2 separate regions of the Homo sapiens genome follow, and region 1 is linked to region 2. The links are contacts of gene promoters, found by promoter capture Hi-C in blood cells and fetal thymus (Javierre and others, 2016). All regions are on one chromosome and are shown on one strand. The core of a region is centred on a gene start or on the middle of the fragment in contact, and the rest is flanking DNA. Distances in the headings are between cores, read along the strand shown.

Evidence for each region. The method cuts DNA at HindIII sites, captures the fragments that hold promoters and counts their contacts. A CHiCAGO score of 5 or more calls a contact.
Region 1: a contact is called between a fragment that was not itself captured here and the fragment with the promoter of NEDD1 in region 2, in 1 of 17 cell types (endothelial precursors). The highest score is 5.6, in endothelial precursors.

What each region holds. Positions count from the first base shown.
Region 1 is chr12:96,716,667-96,723,063 of GRCh38, forward strand. It overlaps CFAP54 (cilia and flagella associated protein 54), which reads left to right. Exons shown (of 68, transcript NM_001306084.2): 49 at 1,777-1,856; 50 at 3,739-3,899. Among named protein-coding and RNA genes, the nearest start is that of NEDD1, 190 kb to the right of the region's middle. RefSeq lists enhancers at 3,470-3,649, 3,670-3,779. The HindIII fragment of the contact is 3,587 bases long and covers 3,233-6,397 here.
Region 2 is chr12:96,905,978-96,912,087 of GRCh38, forward strand. It overlaps NEDD1 (NEDD1 gamma-tubulin ring complex targeting factor), which reads left to right and starts at 1,280. Exons shown (of 16, transcript NM_152905.4): 1 at 1,280-1,323; 2 at 1,627-1,879; 3 at 3,775-3,918. The coding sequence starts at 3,783. RefSeq lists a silencer at 1,313-1,592 and enhancers at 1,833-1,922, 1,963-2,102. The HindIII fragment of the contact is 8,934 bases long and covers 1-4,491 here.

The DNA.
Region 1 (6,397 bases), core at 3,776-6,275, 190 kb before region 2:
TGCTGCTATCCTGGAGGCACACCATCTGAAACACTCTGCTCTGACCTTGCCTAGAAAGCCATAGGGTGGCACATGAGCCCTTAAATGGAACTCTGGAATTTAGTCTGGAATTCTTATGTAATTGGATAAGACCGAATTTAACTGCAAAGAGGCCAGGAAGTATAGCTTGCCAGGTGCTCAGAAAGGAGAGGAGTATGCATATAAGTGAACATGATTAGTCTGAAACACAGATCCTAGATATGGTGTTATTTTTGCTGGTCATCCCATTGGGGTTCCTGTTTTGTTGGTATCAGCTATGCAATGGAGAAGGTGAAGTCAGTGAGATGTAGAGTGGCAGGCAGGTAACTAGCCTTCCTAAGGCATCAGGACTCCTATATCTCTTCGCCTATGGATGGCCTATCTGTCTAGCTCTTCTTTTTATTCTAGAGGAGAACACTCATGTGGGACCCATGTTAATTTTATCACACATGGGTTCATGAAAATGTCTAGGTTAAACTCTTCCTAGGGTCTTTTGTATGGTAACATGCATTCCAGGCTTCTTTTGTACCACGTTCAGGCATTTGGTTTGTCTCCATCATTGTCTCTGTCATTCTTACTTTCTCCCTTAGGTGAAAAAGCCCAGTCCCAGATCCTCCTGCTGGGCCTTCCAAGAGCCCTAGCCCTCCCTCATCCTCAGCTGACCCCTAGATTCAGACCCTCATAATTTAGGAGACTAGCCAGGTAGGGAAGTGTTGCTGTTGAAAGAGGAGAGGAAGTTCGGTGTATTAAGTTCCATGTTATTTCAGAATTTTTCTTTGTACTTAACAAACTTAATTTCTTCAGGTGGATATATTTTTCTGTCATTTGTAGTCAAATGATTTGTGGTTTATCTTTCTCTCCCACAGTCTAGAAGCCCAGTTGAATGAAGCAGGCAAAGACTGTGATCTGAATTCTCTCACTTCTCCCCTGTTCAGAATAAGAGCAGGCTTTGGATCGTGGATGGAGATTTTGAAAGAGATATTTGAGTATTGTGGATTATGCTCTTCCAGCTGGTCTCACGCTCAGCTCTTAGACTGAGGGGCTTGTTCACATCAGCAGAACTGATGCTTCCATGGAGATCTTATTGAAATGTTAGAAATATCTGGAAGAGGGCTTTCAGGAGTCCTGGGATCCCAGAAGAGGAAAAACTATATCAGTAGCCAATAACTTGAATAACATCACTAAATACCTAAAAAATTCTTTCAGAATTGTCTGATTTGTTGTAAGAATCAGCTTCAGCCTTCTAATATATGACATTAGGGACTATTTGATACAGGAATATGTTTCTATATTCCCGTGTTTCTATATTATCATTGTGTTTTTTAAAAAATTATTAAACTTATGGATAGTTTTCCTGTGAATGATGAGTTTTAAAAACTATTAATAGAATTAGGGTGGGTGCAGTGGCTCATGCCTATAATCCCAGCACTTTGGGAGGCCGAGGTGGGCAGATCACTTGAGCTCAGGAGTTCAAGACTAGCCTGGGCAACATAGTGAAACCCCATCTCTACAGAAAATACAAAAATTAGCCGGGCATGGTGGTGTGCGCCCGTAGTCCCAGCTACTCGGGAGGCTGAGGTGAGAAGATGGCTTGAGCCCAGGAGGTGAAGGTTGCAGTGAGCTGAGATTGTGCCACTGTGCTCCAGCCTGGGTGACAGAGCCAGACCCTGTCTCAAAATAAAATAAAATAAACCTAGAATTAATATTTAAACTAACCATAGATATCCTTGGTCCTTCCAAAATTTTGTGTCTTTATAGAGATATATTCAAAGGATGATGGAAGTTCATTTTATAATCTTACAAAACTTAAAGATGAGATCACTCTTAGCATGCTAAAGGTAAGTTTGAAACTGTTTTCAAACCATTAAGTTAGTTACCAAAAATCCACTATTAGGCCCTGGATGGGCCTGCTTTCAGAGTTATGCTTGCTCTTGTGAGAGCAGTTACCTTTTCTTGTGTAAGAATGGGTTGGAGCCAGAGGTGGAGTTTACTCCTCATGAGAAAAGTAGATGTCCAGTGGTGTCCAGCTTTGACTTCACAACCTGATTAAGGTGCTTCAGAAAATATGATTCGGCTGGGCGCGGTGGCTCACACCTGTAATCCCAGCACTTTGGGAGGCCGAGGTGGGCGGATCACCTGAGGTCGGGAGTTCAAGACCAGCCTGACCAACATGGAGAAATCCTGTCTCTACTAAAAATACAAAATTAGCTGGGTGTGATGGCGCATGCCTGTAATTCTAGCTACTCAGGAGGCTGAGGCAGGAGAATCGCTTGAACCCAGGAGGCAGAGGTTGCAGTGAGTCAATATCACGCCACTGCATTCTATTCTGGGCAAAAAGAGCGAAACTCCATTTCAAAAAAAAAAACAACAAAGAAACATGATTCATTATTTGGTGGGATATGAGTATTCCATCCCGTTTATCATTTCCCAATAATAGTGATGACAATGGCATCAACAGCTTTTGCATGATTATTTAATTTTTATAACTTTATGATGTAGGTAGTAATCATTTTGAACTGTGCTGTGCTGAACCATGAGAAAACTGAGGCTTAGACATCTAAGAATTTGACTAATATCATACAACTAATAAAATATAGATCCAGGAGAAGGACTACATCTTTTTGATTCAAAATCCATGTTCTTAAACATTATACTGAATTGCCCTAATATTTATATAATATTCACTGCTCTGCACAAATACATTTTTAGTGGCCTGTCACTTGAAAGATTGGTTGGTCCCTTTATCTTCTGCCATGTTAGGCTGCTATTTACTATTGATTGTCTACTGTAAAAATCTCATTATCTTCACATTACCAACTAGGTGACCATACTTTAACTTGAAATACAGTTGATCCACATTATTCACAGATTCTGTGTTTGCTAATTTGCAGATCTACTGAAATTTATTTGTAGCCTGAAAATCAACACTCTTGGCACTCTGTTGGCTATTCGTGAACACACGCAGAGCACAGAAAAATTTGAGCTGCTCAATGCACGTATTCCCAGCTGAGTTGAACAAGGAGATGCTCTGACTTTTTGTTGCCACTCTCATACTGTAAACAAGTGTCCTTTTCACGGTCTATTTAGTACCATGCTTTTTGAATTTTTGTCAATATTTACAATGACCCTCCAGCATAGTGCTGAAGTGCTGTGGAGCATTTCTAAGTTAAGAGGGCTGTGGTGTCCCTTATGGAGAAGCTATGTGTGTTAGATAAGCTTCCTTCAGAAGTGAGTGCTATTGGCTGTGAGTTCAAGGTTAGCAAATTAACAGTATATATTAAATATACTGTTATATATCCTTAGCCATAAACACACATTAAACAAGGAGGCTGTGTATTGAGCAGTTAATGAAAATGTTGTGACCAGAGGCTCTCGGGTACTTTTCTCCATGTCTCCCCTAGGAGCAATGGCTCAGTATCCAGTAATCAGTGTTTGCAAGAACTTTATAGAACATAACTACTGTGAATAGTAAGCACCAGCTGTGCACACAAGAAAAGGTCACTGTCATGCATGCTGACGCTTGCTTTCACTTTCCTTTTCGTTTTCTGTTGCCTTTTTCCTTTTTGCTGAACTCTCTTCTCTGGTAATTAGATACCAAGTTCCTTTTTGGTCTTCCATTCATTGTTACTTTTCAGTACATGAAAAATATTTGCTAAAGAAGAAAGAGACAGTATTTGTATTATTTCTGAACTCACGTGATGTATGGTATCCTTTCCTTAGTCGATGTTACTGATGGAAGCTGAGGACAGGCTAAACTTCCTTCTGTCCGAGGTGGAACAGAAGACCCTGTCTCAGTGCTCCGCTGGCGAGCTGGAGATTGTGGTGGAGGCCCGGCTTCAGCTGGCTGCAGTTGCTCTGCAGAGGCACCGGGCGGCATACAGGTGCGTCTCTCCATGCACAGGGGAGGGATACCTTTGAAGAGAGTTCCTTCACCCTAGTTTATTAAATAGACTTAAATTTTATGTAAGTTTTAGAAATTCCTATATCCATAGTATGCTTGCTTTTTATTATTCAGGGAAGTTTTCATACATGATTTCACTTAAAATTATAGCTCTGGCTGGGTGTGGTGGCTCATGCCTGTAATCCCAGCACTTTGGGAGGCTGAGGTGGGCAGATCACTTGAGGCCAGGAGTTGGAGACCAGGCTGGCCAACACGAAGAAACCCTGTCTCTACTAAAATATGAAAATTAACCAGGCTTTGTGGCGGCACATGTAATCCCAGCTACTCGGGAGGCTAAGGCAGGAGAATCACTTGAGCCCGGGAGGCAGAGGTTGCAGTGAGCTGAGATTGCCCCTCTGTACTCCAGCCTGGATGACAGAGCAAGACTCTGTCTCAAAAAAAAAAAAAATTACAGTTCTCAATAAAGCAATTATTTTATGAAGGCACACAGCTGGGTTGTTTAATTTCATATATAGAATGAACAAATTAACAATGCTTTGATTTTTTTATACATTTAATTTACTTTTTAAAAAGACTAAACCTTTTTACGAATAAAAGCTATGGAGTGTTTTCTTTTTTTCTAAAACATTGACTTAAAATATTAAAAACAAACCTATTTTGAAAAAGTAAGTTTCTGCATCATATTGCACTGAACTGTTTAATAAACTGTTGTAGGTAGCTAATTATTTAAATGTGCTGCAATTGTTAGTGTCAGCTCTTTCATTTAGTTTGTTCATCGATTTATTTATTTAGTCAACCAGTATCTGTTAACTCTCTCACTGCCAGGCTCTGATCTAGGCAGTGAAGATATAAAGATGCATAGAATACAATTTCTGTATCCATATGCTCACAGATATATAAGCAGTCAGGTAGAGTAGTAAAAATAATATTACAGCGCTTTTTTCATATTTAATAATATGGACATCCACATTCAAGAGTTTCTCCATGCCATTTGTGATAAACACTTCTATCATGAGGTCCTCTGACACATTCAATAGTGATTCATCTAATAATGCATACATTTCTTATCATTCATTAATTCGTTTAAAAAATAAGTTTGTGCACTTTCAATATGCTAGGCACTGTTCTAAGCTCCTGGCAAGTATCAGTGGCCCAATACTCATATATACAGTCTAAACAAAATATATAACAATATTGTGCAAAATCTTGCCCTATATTCTAATAGATAATAAACATGCTGGCAATAAACTATAAACACAAGTAAATTACAGAGTGTGGGCAAAAATGATAAGTGCTATGGAGAATATAAGGAGTAGAGGTTGGAGGGGGACGAGTTACCATTTTAAAATCGTGTGGTTGTAATAAGTGTGACTCCATTTTGATGTTCAATGGCTGACAGCTTTCAAGCCCGACCACTGTCCTTCTCTTTCTGCCCCTGACCTGAGCAAGCAGATAAGAAAGCCCATCTGTTCCCTCCTTTGGTGTTAGTGGAAAGTTCAAACCATGTAAGTCCTGGCCCATGTGCAGGAACTCTTACCTCAGTGCCACCCACCAACCACCATAAAACTCCAAGCCAGTCTCTTTTCCTTACTTTCTCCATACATTTTCCCACCTGTTTGGGAACCTGCTCTGATCTTCTTGCAAGGTCTCTTTATGTGAGCAGTACCCCATTTCATACCCTCTTGACGTGTGTGTATCTGGGATCAGTCGTGACATCTGAACCACATTTTGGGTGGTCAGGGCAGGCTTCATTGATGAGGTGACATCTGAACAAAGTACTTAAATGAGAGAATTATCCATGCAAATATCTATAGACAAAGTGTTACAGGCCATGGAGACATGCCTGATACATGTTTGAGGGACACCTCCAGGCCTCTTGTGGCTGGGGTGGAGTGAGTGAGGGGCAGAGTTGCAAGGGAGATCGGCAAAGAGGTAACTGGTGGACAAGGAGATTACATAAGACCTTTTGGCCAGGGTAAAGACTGACTTTGAGTGAAGTGGGGAGTCATTGTGGAGTTTTGAGCAGAGGAGTGACATGATCTGATTTTCATTGTAAAGGGTTGGCTCTTGCTGCTAGTGTGAGAATTGATTATAAGAGGAAAAGGGTGTGAAAGCAAGGAGATGAATTAAGGAGGCTATTATAATAACAGAAATATGGTGGTGTTTCTTACCAGTGTGATAGCACTGGAGGTAATGAGAAGTATTTGGATTCTGAGTAAATTTTGAAGGTAGAGCCATTCTGTTTTACAGATATTGGATGTAAGTTGTGAGAAAAAGAGAGGAGTCAAAAAAGAAGTGGTCATTAACTGAAATGGGGAGGTTGTAGGGGTGCAGCTTATTTAGGGGAAACACCAGGAATTAAAATTTGGATGTATGTAGTTTGAGATGCCCTTAGATGTACAATTGAAGATGTCAAGTATTCTGAGAGTCTTTAGAATATAGACAGTGTTATTCAAATCTTCCCAGCATAAAGAAAAG
Region 2 (6,110 bases), core at 30-2,529:
TTTTTATATGTATAACTAGTATTATATCATATAATATGTATATATTATATTACATGTATTATTATATATATTTTCATATAGTCTAGTCTCAATTTTCCTGCTGGCTTCAATTTTCAGAGATTTAATTAATTGCCCTTTTTGTTTGAAGTTTTCTTTTCTCCATTTGCTCCCATTCTCCCTGCCCCCACTCCCTTACCGTACTTTCTTAGTTCCCAACTTTCTGGGCCTCCTCCCTGCCCAAATTGGATTTCATAGCCTCAAGAACTGCAGACTGTACAATTAAGGTAGTTGCTGCTTGCTATCTTTCTCCTTTTGCCACTCCCCCATGAACCTCAGTAACTTGGCTACGATTTCAATTTCTGCTCTGAAAAAATGCACTTATTAGAATTTTCCAATTATCTGCAATATGAATGCAGATAACTGGGGCTGATGTACCTAGTTCAGAAACACACCCCATGTAGTTGTGATGAAAGAATAACACTTTTTGCAGAAGAAATGCTCTATATTTATGATAAATATTCTTAGCAAAAATTGTCAGTAGAGCTATAAAAGGACCTTTGGAAGGGGCACTTGAAAACTCGGCTCAGCAACTTCCTTTTCCACCTTGAAGTATCCCCTTCAAAAGAATTCCCAAACAGATGATGTTTGATGTTCCGGACCTCGCAGCATGATGCGAAAGAAAGATCATGGGTTTTGAAGTAGGTTAGTGCAGACGCCTACTCTTTGGGTTATTTCTCAGCCTGAGCGCGTTTCCTGGCTTGTAAATCGCATGTAGGAATCCTTTCCTAAATCCACATCCACAATAGTTTCCCTTATTATGGGTCTTCGTGCATCTTATACCTTTCATTATCATAGTTTCACTTTCCATTTAAGCATCTAATAACGTCAGCTTCCTATAGTGCATTGTAAGCTCCACAAGGCCAAGGACCACGAGAATTCACTGTACCCCTGTATCCCCAGGCTAAACCATCACTGTACACTCAAGAGTCTAGCACAGTGCCTGGCACACAGTAAACAGCAAGTGAATGACAAGCAGTTGGCAGTGGCCGGAGCTCCGTCGCTGGGGCGTGGAGAGGGCCGCCCCGGCCCGCAGTTCCCGCCCTGACACTGGGATAACTTCCCCCGCGGCTGCCCAGCGCCGCCCTGACCAGACCCTCTGTACCCCGACTTCTGTCCGGCCAGAAGCCACAGCCGCACGCAGCGCCTCGCCCCGTGACGTCACTCGGGGCGGGACTTCCGGCCGCCGAAGTTTAACAGTCCAGGCGGGAGCCGGAAGCCCAGCGCGGAGCCGGCCGCGGCCCCCTGTTGTGTTGCTGCGGAGAGGTGAGGTTCCGGAGGCCCTGAGGTCAGCGGGCCCCCGCCCGCCGCGTCCGCGCACCCTCCCGATCCTAAGACCCGCTCCGTCCCCCTCAGAGGGCGGGGCGGCGGTCCTTGGGCTTTGCGCGCCCGGAGCGGTTGCTGGGCGGGGGCGCGGCGGCGCGCTGGGCTGGGAAGTGTCCGGGGAGGCGCGGGCCGGGGTCGCGCACCTCCCGGAGCCTTGTGGGGTGTGCTGCCTCCGAAAAGTTTGCCTCGTCTCCACAAGTCTGTCTCCTTTTTTGTCAACCTCAAGTACTTTTCTTTTGGCAGGTACTTGGATGCATTTTACAGGTTAGCCTCACTTGAGCTGTTGTCCTGCAAGTAAAGTGTATTTTTGGTGATTGAAAGTTGGAGAACTTTCATTTCAGCTGAGTGGTGTAGTTGAATTGGTTCCTGTAGCCGCTGTCCCTAAACCCAGGCCGACGTTACCGCCTTGTGTCCTGACTGCTAGCTTTCGACGGGACCGTCTTTGAGGGACTCATGTAAAGTCTCTCCCTTAATGCTCAGTTCTTAGAAGACCGAGGTAGGTGGGCAGATGGTCCTCTTCCCCGCCCCGCTTTAAGAGCCGAAAACAAACATTAAATCACCCGGCGAGTTGTGTTTCCTAAGTTGGAGCAGGTCGTTTGAACCCAGTTTTTCTGAGCCCAGGCCTCAGTGATCTACCCACTACACCCCGCAGCTCACCAGGCCTGGTTACGATGCAGTTAGACACAGCTTGCAGTTGTGGTTTACAGGGCTTAGAGCTCGCTTTTCCAGCAATTCATTAGTTGTTCCTTGACTTGGGAACCAAGGGGGCACGTGTTACACATGTTTAAGGCTCCAAATCCAAACATTGTGTTACATCTCTGCAGGTGACTTTAATGGCTTTTAGTAGCACTGTATCGGATGAATGGAGCATAAGGAAGCACATGAGTGAATTACATTAACTTTTTGTCTCGAGAATGAAACGTTTCTATAATTCTGTCTTTAACTTGTCCTCTGAAATGGCTTATACTAGACGTAGGTGTGCTGTTGTATTGGTGACTCGGGGACCTGCCTGTGACATCACTAATGCTGTGCAGTAGTCTTGCACTTTCCATACTAGGAAGGTGTGGGAGGTATAATTCTGTGCCCTCTCCCTTTCCTTTTCTCCCATGTACTTTTGAGCATCTTTTTTTCTCACTTATCGTTCATTACTACCTGTTGCTCTTTAAAGTGCCTGTCTAGAGCAGCTTCTTTGCCTTCTGTTTTCTAGACTTCCTTGGTTTGTGAAATCACCTTGTTAGAATTACGTGTTTCAGCTGTATGCTCTGAATAAATGATTGAAGGCATCGTAGTCCAAGTATTGGTATAGGGACTTAGTGGCGTCTCATTTGACCATATTGCTAATTTTAGAGTTTTGGAAAAACTGGTGTGACTGGATTCTGACCTGCAGAAATGCTAGTTTATCATACTTTTTTTAAAAATTAGGAAGTTACTTATTAGTAGTTATTTGTTGTGAAACTGCTGTGTGCCAGGAATGTTTCAAGACTCTGGTGTGGGGAGACAGACATTATAAGAACAAATAAAAATTTCAGATAGTGGCTGGGCACGGTGGCTCACGCCTGTGGTCCCAACACTTTGGGAGGCTGAGGCGGGCAGATCACCTGAGGTCAGGAGTTCGAGACCAGCCTGACCAACATGGAGAAACCCCGTCTCTACTAAAAATACAAAATTAGCCGGGTGTGGTGGTGCATGCCGGTAATCCCAGCTACTCGGGAGGCTGAGGCAGGAGAATCACTTGAACCTGGAAGGCGGAGGTTGTGGTGAGCCGAGATCACACCATTGCACTCCAGCCTGGACAACAAGAGTGAAACTCCGTCTCAAAAAAAAAAAAAAAAAATTCAGATATTAGGAAGTGCTATGAAAAAAATGAAATCAGGTATTGGGATATAGGGTAAACTGCTAAGTCCCTTACCAGGTAAGGAAGGGACTGCGTTAGCCAGGGTGGTCAGGAAAGGCCTTTCATAGGAGGAAACATTTGAGCTAAGACCTGAATGATGAGAAGGAGATGACCATGGGAATCTGGGGAGAACATCTTAGGCACAGGGAGCAGCAAATGAAAAGACACTGAGGTGAGAATGACTTTGCCTTTGCATGAGGCAGAGAGAAGGCCAGTGAAAAGAAAGAGGAGAGTTACATGGGGGCCAGGACATGTAAGGCAGGCTAAGGAGGCTGGATTTCATTATCATTACTGTGAGGAGCCATTGGAAGGGTCAGCTAAGAGAATGCGACCTGGCTTATGTTTTAGGAAAATCACTTCAACTGCTTTGGTGACTGCACTGTTTGGAACAAAAATGAATGAGTTAGAGCCACTTGTTTTAGATTAGATTTTGACCTTTTTTTGAGTATGTCTATTCTTAAATGTTTTTAAAATACATTGTTTTAAACTATTTGTAGGCGCAGTCATGCAGGAAAACCTCAGATTTGCTTCATCAGGAGATGATATTAAAATATGGGATGCTTCATCTATGACATTGGTGGATAAATTCAACCCACACACATCACCACATGGAATCAGCTCAATATGTTGGAGCAGCAATAGTATCCTTTAAAAAAAAAAAACACACACACACACACACAAACCGCTTATTAGGTTAAACAACCACTGTCAATGAAACTTTTGCATGTGCCTCATACTGAGTAATGTGTTTTGCATTGCTACCAAGGATAGATAACGTAAAATAGTAATTTACAAAACAATATATCATATGAATGCACTCTGATTTTATCTGTTGCGTTCATTTAAAAAAAATTTAGTTACAACCCACTTCATTTGAAAACACTGCTATTAAAAAAAGTATATTCTGTCTACACCATAGAATTAGTTATCAAAAATTTCTTATTGAACCAAATGGAATAAGGTTGGTAGTTGTGGAAATAATTCCAAAAGGTTTTGGAATGAGTTTTTGCATCTACATTTGGGTATTTGTGGATCTGAACTGAAAATTAAAGACAGAACTTGAAGGCAGAAGCAAGTTGGGGAGGAGATAAAAAATTGCCCAATATCTCCATCTTACTAATGTACTCTCCATATCTTCCTTCCTCTCTGTGTGTGTGATGAAAATTACATTTCCTAAACAGACATAGTAAAGTTACCTAGATTGAACTTTTCTAAGCTTTTTATGTTTCTGATTGACACCTTCCCTGTCTTGGTGAGCTCCTCAATGTGGATAAAATAAAATGAGGGAGTGAAGACTGTAAACTAGGGTTTCTGAACCCTGTGCTATTGACTTTTTGGGGCAGAAAATTTGTTGTGGACCTTTCCTGTATGTTGTACCACGTGGAGGTTTATTGGTCTTCACCCGTTAGGTACCAATAGCCTCTAGTTGTGACAACCCAAAACGTTTCCAGAATTGCCTGAATCACTCCCAGTAGAGAACCACTGCTGTGACCACAGTGCTCCTATCACCTTTTATGTGAAAATGTTTTATGTAATTGGTATGTTAGAAATTTTCTTTTGTGAAACTCATACGCTATTTCTTAACAAATTAAGATTTAACATTTATCTGATTTTTATCAACACCAAAGTATTCTACTTTCTGATAAAAAAATCAAAGCTTTAAAATGTGACTGGTTCAGGAACAAAAATATTAAAAGTTTTATATGACTTACTATTCTTGCATGTATATAACAAGAAGGACAAATTTTCTTACTGAATTAAATTTACCTCCTTATCATTCCTTGATTTTGCAGTAAAACAAATTACTTTGGTACTCTGTTAATCAAACTCATGGTGAAGTGACTACATTTTTGAAGGACTTTCCAGATGTGTAATAGGGAAAATATTTTAAAGAGAGCGACAAGTATATGAAGTTGCTGTTCTCTATTTTTAGATTTTCATTATGTTTAGAGCTTAATTTTCCCTCTTACTATATAAGAGAAAGGTAGCAATTTGTAGTAAGATTATTTTTTGGTTGACTTTTGTTTTAAGTTTTACTAGGAGTTGGCATTTACTGATGTGCTACTTAATAGTCTAACAACAAAACTGATGTAGCTATGAGATAGTGTTGTATGACTTTTGGAAATTGGTCTTACAGTTTTCTTGCATGAGCAGATGTGCACTGAAAGCCTTCATACAGTCTTATTCTTAATAAGGCTTTGATCACTTCCATGGAGGTTAATTACTGAAGAACAAGGAGTTCCCAGCCTTAGCAACTTGGGGTCCACATAGTATAGATTCCAAGAATGGGGTTAATGTGAGACACCAGAGAGATTAGTTTTTTGTTTCTTGTCCTTTAACTTACGTTCCTCACTTTCTCATGATTTCTAAAACTACAAGAGAAATAAAAAAGAACTAGATTACCCACCCACATTATGTTTCAGTCCTTTTTTTTCTATATTCTAAGGAGAAAAGTAGTGGTAAACAGGAAGAAGTCAAGGAAAGGGAAATGGTTTTTCTCGCTATGGTAATATCTAGGTAGGAATGATTTGATTTGCATCATGTATCATAATAAAATTACAGTCTATGCTCTGTTTACAAAATACCTGAAAGTTATACAGAACATTCAAAAGTTAATGCAGTTAGGGATTCTGAGTGTCTAATTAACCTTTCTCCATTGCTTTTACTCACAGATTTTAATTGCTAAAAAGCACAGATTTAAACTTCTGATATTTTAATTTGTTATGGCTCTCAAAATCAGACTCTTATTCTTAGTTATATTATTGTATTTAATCATTTTAGTTTTAAAATAGTTACTGTTTTGTGTTTACTGATTGTTCCATTTACAATTCGT